Linked DNA regions of Homo sapiens: region 2 is linked to region 1. Evidence: promoter capture Hi-C in human tissues and cell types (Jung and others, 2019). All regions are on one chromosome and are shown on one strand. Each heading gives the region's core, a stretch centred on a gene start or on the middle of the fragment in contact. The rest is flanking DNA. Distances are from core to core; before and after follow the strand shown.

Region 1 (3,993 bases), core at 1,000-3,499:
ATATATGGTCAATAGTTTAAAAATTATGGAAGCCGGCCGGGCGCGGTGGCTCACGCCTGTAATCCCAGCACTTTGGGAGGCCGAGGCGGGCGGATCACGAGGTCAGGAGATCGAGACCATCCCGGCTAACACGGTGAAACCCCGTCTCTACTAAAAATACAAAAAATTAGCCGGGCGTAGTGGCGGGCGCCTGTAGTCCCAGCTACGTGGGAGGCTGAGGCAGGAGAATGGCGTGAACCCGGGAGGCGGAGCTTGCAGTGAGCCGAGATCCCGCCACTGCACTCCAGCCTGGGCGACAGAGCGAGACTCCGTCTCAAAAAAAAAAAAAAAAAAAAAAAAAAATTATGGAAGCCACTGCATTTTCAACCTAACATGTTAGCCTTCCCCTGGGATCCTTCACTGGATCGTAGAGCCTCCAGCCTTGCTCTGAGAATAAGTGGGATCGTGATAAAGGTACAGTCCTGCACTGGGTGGCCCTGGCCACAGGGACCCGTGGGACTTTAATGACAGCAAGCACTGTCCAACAGGGTCCAATGAGGAAGATGGTAAAAATCAGGAAACTTGCTGGGATGATGTGAGGCATGTCAACTTTCTGATTTTCTTTAATGAAGTTTTTAAAGTCTGGTGCCTTCTCCTGGATTAGAGGAGAAAAGCTGGAATGTTAATATTTTCTTTAACTCCCTGCCCTGCCTCCCATCCACCAAGAGATACGGTTGCAGAGGGGGAAAGAGCCACATGCCCCTTGGAGAGGAAGTACAGAATCAGTGTCCCGGGGTGGTGCATTCCTACAGGGGTCCAGCAAGGGAAAGTCCAATGACGGGCCTCAGGGACAGGAATCAGGGTCCCGCCTGGTGGGACTAACTCTGTCCCCACAGAGCTCAACTCACTGGCATCTCCCCAGTGTTGCAGTCCTCCGTGAGAACCTCGGCTGCCACAGCTGTCTTCTCCATGACAGCCCCAGCTCCTGGGCACGGGTCCTCTGGGTGGGTGCCCTCTTTGGGGTCCCTGGCCTCGAGTTGACCTGCCAGCATCCTGGTTGGGAAGGGAAGGGCTATGGGGACACTTGAATGCAGCCCTCCTACCCCGTCAGTGTGGGCTGAAGGCCCCAGCCCCAAACTAAGGGTGAGCAGGACCCGCAGCCGCTCCTTCTCCCCCTGGGTCATGTGCACATTCCCAGGCCCGAAGCTGACCAGGTGAAAGGACACCACAGACAGAGGGACTGAGCTGTCCACACCTGGCTCTCCACCATCCTCCGTGGAAAATGCTTTAGATCCTAGAAGATCAGCCTGACACCTAACACACTCCAGTCATCCAAAGAGGGGTGTGAGTGGGGTGTGAGCCGGTGTGAGTGGGATGTGAGTGGGTTGTGAGCAGGATATGAGCGGAATGTGAATGGATGTGAGCGGATGTGAGCACGATGGTCTTGGGGTATGAGCAGGTGTGAGTGGAATGGTCTCAGGGTGTGAGCAGGTGTGAGTGGAGGGTCGCATGAGACACCGAGGGAATTCTCAGCCCTTTAATCAGCACCCACCTGGAGGGGCACAGGCAGACCCTCCACCGTGTTGAGTATGTGTCTTGAACCATCAGGGTGACATTTGTGAATTCATGGTGAAGATGTGGAAAGGAAACACCTTTTTATAGGTACAGCATTTATGCCAGTTCTAGGAAGTTCACAGCAATTAGAGAACAAAAACGAAAGAGAAAAACGCAAAGCTTTCCTGCAAGCCTGCAGGGTCGTCTCTGAAAGCTGCCTCCACCCCTGCCTTGCCCTGTCCGTTTTAGGAAGCCAGTGGCCCCCAACGAAACCCCGACTGTTTAATTCATAAACTTCTAACTGTGTGAGAAGGAACAGTTTAACCACAGTGATCGGAGAAATGCTATTTAAAAGAGAGTCTCCTGATGGAAGCGAATCGAAGGTCTAGAGCAAGACCTACCAGTAACCAGATCACTGCCATTCCTTCCCCGCGGAGACTGGGAATGTTTCTGCGGAAGTGGGCTGGGGTCACGGTCCTCACAGCCCTGAGAAAGCTCCTTCTTTCCTGCTCCTCTGAGGGGACACCCCAGTGTCCTCGGCCCCAAACTCATGACCCCCTCAGTCCAGGGAAGACCCTTTCCTTCAGCCCCACCACCAGACCTCGTCACCTCACCTGGTCCCCAACAGTCACTACTGCCAGGATCAGATCATCTGGGCCATGTCCCCACAGTTGTCCCCAAGCCCTCCTGCCTCATATCCAGAGACCAGAGAGCAGCGGACAGTTCCAACGGACTTTCTGTCTTAAAGGGACATGAACGTCTCACTCAGCGTCACCACTGTACCAGCTCAGATAATAATTAAACATCCCCAAACCTGCAATTCTTAATATAGAAGCTCATCGTCAGTGGAGTCCATCCATCCACAAAGGACATTGGAGAGAGTCAAACTACTCCTCCAAATTGACAAAAACCATGTGTTTTATATCCAGTCTTCAATACGCAACGTGTAGTAAGAGCTCATTTCTCTGAGCATACATTCTTGGAGAAATACAAACTTTCTTCGGATATCAAATTATTTACTAGAAAAAACATTTTTATGAAGGGAAAATAATATATGTGAGTTTAAATAGGAGACAGGATTCAAAGTTTCATCATTTCACTAAATGCATCTCCATCTGAATTGTCCGTGTGATTTTTGTGATAGAGAAGAGAATGAGGAGCAAGCAAGAGTCGATATTCCTGTTAAACCCTGGCTGTCCTTCTCATCCATGGTGCTGCGTGTGGACAACATACACCTGGGGCTCACCTGAGCCTGCTTGGGACGTGTGTCACTTGGATAGTTCTGCAAGCGATTCGCATGCAATAGGCAGTAAATGCCGACGTCATGAATGAATGAAGAGAATACTACAAAGAGGAAACAGAAGGCACTTTTGTCCCCATGTGTCATTCTAACTGTGAGAGTGTGTGTGTGTGTCCTGAGGTGTGCGAGTGTGTGTGTGTGTGTCCTGAGGTGCGTGAGAGGTTGTATGTTTGTCCTGAAGTGTGTGAGAGTTTATATAGGTTTCTGAGGTATGTGAGGGGTTGTGTGTGTCCCTGAGGTGTATGAGGTGTGTGTGGGTCCTGAGGTGTGTGAGTGGTTGTGTGTGGGTCCCTGAGGTGTGTGAGAGGTTGTGTGTGGGTCCTAAGGTGTGTGAGTGGTTGTGTGTGGGTCCTAAGGTGTGTGAGAGGTTGTGTGTGGGTCCTAAGGTGTGTGAGTGGTTGTGTGTGGGTCCTAAGGTGTGTGAGAGGTTGTGTGAGTCCTGAGGTGTGTGAGAGGATTGTGTGTGAGTCCTGAGGTGTGTGAGGGGTTATGTATGGGCCCCTGAGGTGTGTGAGGGGTTTTATGTGTGTCCTGAGAAGTGTGATGAATTGTGTGGGTCCTGAGGTGTGTGAGGGTTTGTGTATGAGACCCTGAGGTGTGTCAACATTGTGTGTGAGACCCTGAGGTGTGTGAGGGGTTGTGTGTGGATTCCTGAGGTGTGTGAGGGCTTGTGTGTATGAGCCTGAGGTGTGTGGGTTCCTTATATGGGTTCCTGAGGTGTGTGAGGGGTTGTGTGTGTGTCCTGAGGTGTGTGAGGGGTTGTGCTTGGGTCCTGGGGTGTGTGAGTGGGTGTTTGTCCTGAGGTGTGTGAGAGGTTGTGTGTGTGTCCTGAGGTGTGTGAGAGTTTGCGTAGGTTCCTGAGGTATGTGAGGGGTTGTGTGTGTCCTGAGGTGTGTGAGAGGTTGTGTGAGTCCCTGGGGTGTGTGAGAGTTTGTGTAGGTTTCTGAGGTGTGTGAGAGTTTGTGTAGCTTCCTGAGGTGTGTGAGAGGTTGTGTGAGTCCCTGAGGTGCGTGAGGGGTTGTGTGTGTCCTGAAGTGTGTGAGAGGTTGTGTAGGTTTCAGGCTTTGCAGCTCCCCTCCTGAGCCTCAGCCGGGCGGCTCCCAGGGCAGGGTCCCCCCATCCCTGTCTCTGCTGCGGCTCTCTGTGTGTTGCTCTTCCCG
Region 2 (3,993 bases), core at 437-2,936, 330 kb before region 1:
GAAGTCTTTTTAATCTATTTCTGCTTGATCTATCATCAAATTTCCCTGAGCTGCTGTTCAAACCTGTCCACATTTCTTTCATTTCTCTATTCCATTCCCACCCGACTCAGTTTCATCGGATGACTTGGCATCCTCCTCTCTCACTTGAGCCTCGTGGCTGTCACACTCCGGTAGCTAAGGCCACCTTTGTTCAATGGCTCTCTACCGGGAGGCATAAAAAGTACGGTGACACGTGTGCTGGTTTTCCCGGGACAATTGACATCTGTCATCCCGACTTAATTATTAGACATTCCCTGTTTCGCGAATGTGCCCTGATTTGGACAATAATTTTTATAGTCCTACTAATGATGAGAAAAACATTGAAGATGGAAGCTGTTCTCAGTGGGGACTGTCCCTTGCCCCTTTTTCGGCCTCTGTGTCTTGGCTCATGCTAATCTTTCTTGTACTCAGTGACAAAAATGATCTCTTGTTCCTGTGAGAATTCTGACTTTATTACTTCTTAATCTGCATGATCATCTAGTGCTTCTCAGACTGATGATCTGTGTATATTTTCTTTTAACCACCCATCTCAAACAGTTCAATTCAAATCCTCATTTCAGAGCTACAGAAAAATGCATGTGAATAAGACTCATTCTTACAGAGGAAAAAAAAACAGGCTAGAACGAAAGTCTGCTCATTCACAGATTGTTTTCCCCCACCCTGGCTCCCTTAACAGCCACATCAGGACTGGATTCTCCCAGGTTTTCCTTCAGAGTGGAGAGAAACACAGCAGTTGTTGCCTTGGAAACTCTGTCCAGGGGCTGGCATCACGGGACTTGGCTCGCCTGCTCTATGGCTGACATCCAAAGCTGACTCACTTAAGTTTCGACTGGTTATGGCTTCGCTAAGGGGGACATAGCGATTGAGGAGAGAGGACAGGGGAACTTGAGCAAGTGAAATGACTATAGCAAGACATCTGTCTTCTTCACAGAGAGTAACTCAAATGATGGCAAAAGGAATAACCAGTGCACTTTAATAATGAAGATTCTTGGTGAAATGTTGGCAGCCAGAGATGCTGTTAAATAAAATGTTCACGTGCCCATGTTTTAATCCAGTTCAGAATTCCATGAGCTGATTCAAGAATTTCTTCAAGACATGCACCTGGTGCCACCTACAACTGTTCATTACACAGCAGCAGCAAATGTGGGCGGCTCTTCTATTCTAAGCTTCTTTTGTGGTCTTGGTTCTCTAATGGGCAGAATATTGTCTATGTCCATCAGATTACAAATGCCTTAGATGAGCCTCTATCAGCTATCAATCGAGGTTTCCATTTCAAATCAATACCTAATTAAAATAACAAAACATTTCTGATTGCTTTTTTAGATTACTTTTAAAAGGAAACCTACGGAGCATCCTAATCCAACCCCTTCTTTCTACAGATGAGGAAACCTAGCCTGGGAGATGGACGCCAGGGATGTGAAATTGCTCCAGTTGTTGGAGGCTCCGTAGGACACACACCCCAAGGCTCCAGGACTCCCAGTGTGCTGGAACCTCACAGAACTACCACTTTGCCTCTGCATAATCACTTAATGCACGAGTATTTTTTTAATCTGTTTCAGCAAATGGAAGTCTGGCATAAAATGTAGTTGCCTGAGTTCACTTTAAAGCTTTGGACAATGTTGTCGTCTAAATAATGTGCTTTGGATGTCTTGACCCATAACAAGATAGCACTGTTCCTTAATCTTTCCAAAGGAATCTATAGCATTAATACAGATAGAGGGTTCCTGCCAAGTCTCGTGTGAGTCAGACACATTAGCAAGGTGATCAGAAATGTCCTTATTCCGGAAGACTGCCACCTCTCAGCCGGCAACTCCAAACTGAGCTGGCAAACACAGCATTAAGGACTCAGAAAGCATTGGGGGAGGGGATTTAGTAACAAATCTGAGTCATGAAAACAGAAAACGACTGAAAGAGAAAACATAATTAACTTCCAGTGTAGAATGCTAGTGCCTTGGGGAAAATCCTGTGCAAGTGTAGATGTAAGCAATTTTAGGGACGAATACCGAAAAAGCTGTTAGCAGTCTGATGGGGGCTGCATCGGGGACGGGGGGCCTTGACTATTATTTTATTTTAATTAAGAATGTTGGTTACAGGAGTGAAGGGATAAAGTCAGGTTGCAATGAGGCAACCTTCCTGTTGGACAGGGCCTCCTGCAGCTACTGAGTTTCCCACTGTGGTTGTGAACAGGCTGGACACGATGAATGTTTACATGGTGAAATGCGGCCCCTTGTGGCCTGATTGGGGAAACAAAACAAAAAGTCCGACTCACAGCCTGAGAGTGATACTAACCTACTTTACAGCATGTCAAACAGTGACACTGAAAAAATGACTACGGTACTCAGCAAAATTAGTAATCACACCAAAACGCACCAACATATAAAAGAACCATTTTATTCAAGAAAGCCGGGAAGAACTGTCCCCTAAGTCAGCTCGTGTCACACTTGAACGTGCCTGGGGACCACCTAGCATCTTGTTGCAGCAGCACAGGTTTGGTTCAGCGGGCCTGGATGAGGCGTGAGGGTCTGCATTTTATTTATTTATTTATTTATTTATTTATTTATTTATTTATTTACTTACTTACTTACTTACTTAGAGATAGGCCTGTTGCCCAGGACGGAGTGCAGTGGTAAGATAACAGCTCACTGCAGCCTCGACCTCCCAGGCTCAAGCAGTCCTCTCACTTCAGCCTCCAGGGTGGCTGGGACTGCAAGTGCACGCTACCACTGCTAACTTTTTAATTTTTTCGTAGAGTCTTGCTGGTCTTGCTATGTCGCCCAGGCCAGTCTCGAACTCCTAGACTCAAGCGATCCTCCTGCCTCGGCCTCCCAAAGTGCCAGGATTTCAGGTGGGAGCCACCGTGCCCAGCCAGGGTCTGCATTTCTGATAAGCCTCAGGCAATGCCCACCCTGAGAGTGGCCAGGGGCTCGAGGGAAGGGTTGGCCAGGTCTCCTCTGTCAGGGCCTCCTCGCTCCAAGACCGCAGGCCTCTGGAGGGCATTCTCTGCCTCGCCTTGGCCTCCCAGGGGTTACAATTCTTTCCCACACCCAAGCACTGAGAAGGCTGGGGAGCCACTTTTCTTTCGCATCTTCAAGCTCAAGGGCCTCCTTACCTCAGCTCAAGGTCATCATTTCCCCCTAAGAAAGAGTATCCTGTGAGGAGACAGCCCACTCCCTGACACCTTCCTAGCCTACTCTGGACCTTCCTACTTCAGGAAGCAACCATTCCAGGACGGCATCTGACTGTGTCTTATGGATTCCGCATTCATGAAAGCCACAGGTTTCTTTCTTGATCACTGAAAGCAGCAGGTGGTTTTCAATGCCATTGCCTCCAAGTCTCCTCTTGGGATGTGCCTGTCTGAAGGTGGCGTTAATGTGTATCTGCCGGGCTTCTCCCTTGCACCCAGACAGCGCGCACTGAGGCCCACTCCGGCATCTTGTTTCCAGTGTCAGAGTGGCATTCACACCCCACCCCACCCCCAATCCCAAGAATTCATTGTATTTGGTTATGAAGAAAATCTTTAATACAAAGTATTTTTAACCCAGTGTGGGAGGAGAAAGACAGAATAAATAGAACAGTAGAATGATCACAGATGGGTAATTACACATGTAAATGAGCTCAATTTGGTAAATTTCCTTTGAGTTCCTATTTACCTGATTAACATTTTATGCTAGCCCCACAGCACCACTGCAGTTTGGGTTACTTTCTTTTTACTCTTATATGTCAATTCTGAAATATGAAAAGCAATTTTGAATACTTTGGTGGAACCATTTTTCTCAGCTTTTTTTTTTTCAGATTTTTCCATTTACCATCATAACTGGTCTACAAAGTATGAATTGCCTCCAGTGTACAAGGTCCCACAACATGTTGGATCTCTGGAAAACACAACCCTAGTATTCCAGGAACAGTTCCCACAAAACTAGAATACAAAATCTAAGTAATAAGGTCAGACCATGC

The links. The method cuts DNA at HindIII sites, captures the fragments that hold promoters and counts their contacts. A contact is called where the count stands out against the background at its distance.
Region 2: a contact is called between a fragment that was not itself captured here and the fragment with the promoter of TCP10L in region 1, in 2 of the 25 tissues and cell types used here (H1 embryonic stem cells and spleen).

The regions. Positions count from the first base shown.
Region 1 is chr21:32,583,274-32,587,266 of GRCh38, forward strand. TCP10L (t-complex 10 like) reads right to left here and starts at 2,250. Exons shown (of 5, transcript NM_144659.7): 1 at 2,148-2,250; 2 at 888-1,032. The coding sequence starts at 1,031. All of the region lies in intron 5 of CFAP298-TCP10L (CFAP298-TCP10L readthrough), which reads right to left. RefSeq lists an enhancer at 507-1,007 and a silencer at 2,089-2,288. The HindIII fragment of the contact is 17,408 bases long and covers 557-3,993 here.
Region 2 is chr21:32,256,268-32,260,260 of GRCh38, forward strand. It overlaps a transcript of MIS18A not described here. Among named protein-coding and RNA genes, the nearest start is that of MIS18A, 21 kb to the right of the region's middle. The HindIII fragment of the contact is 6,088 bases long and covers 1-3,993 here.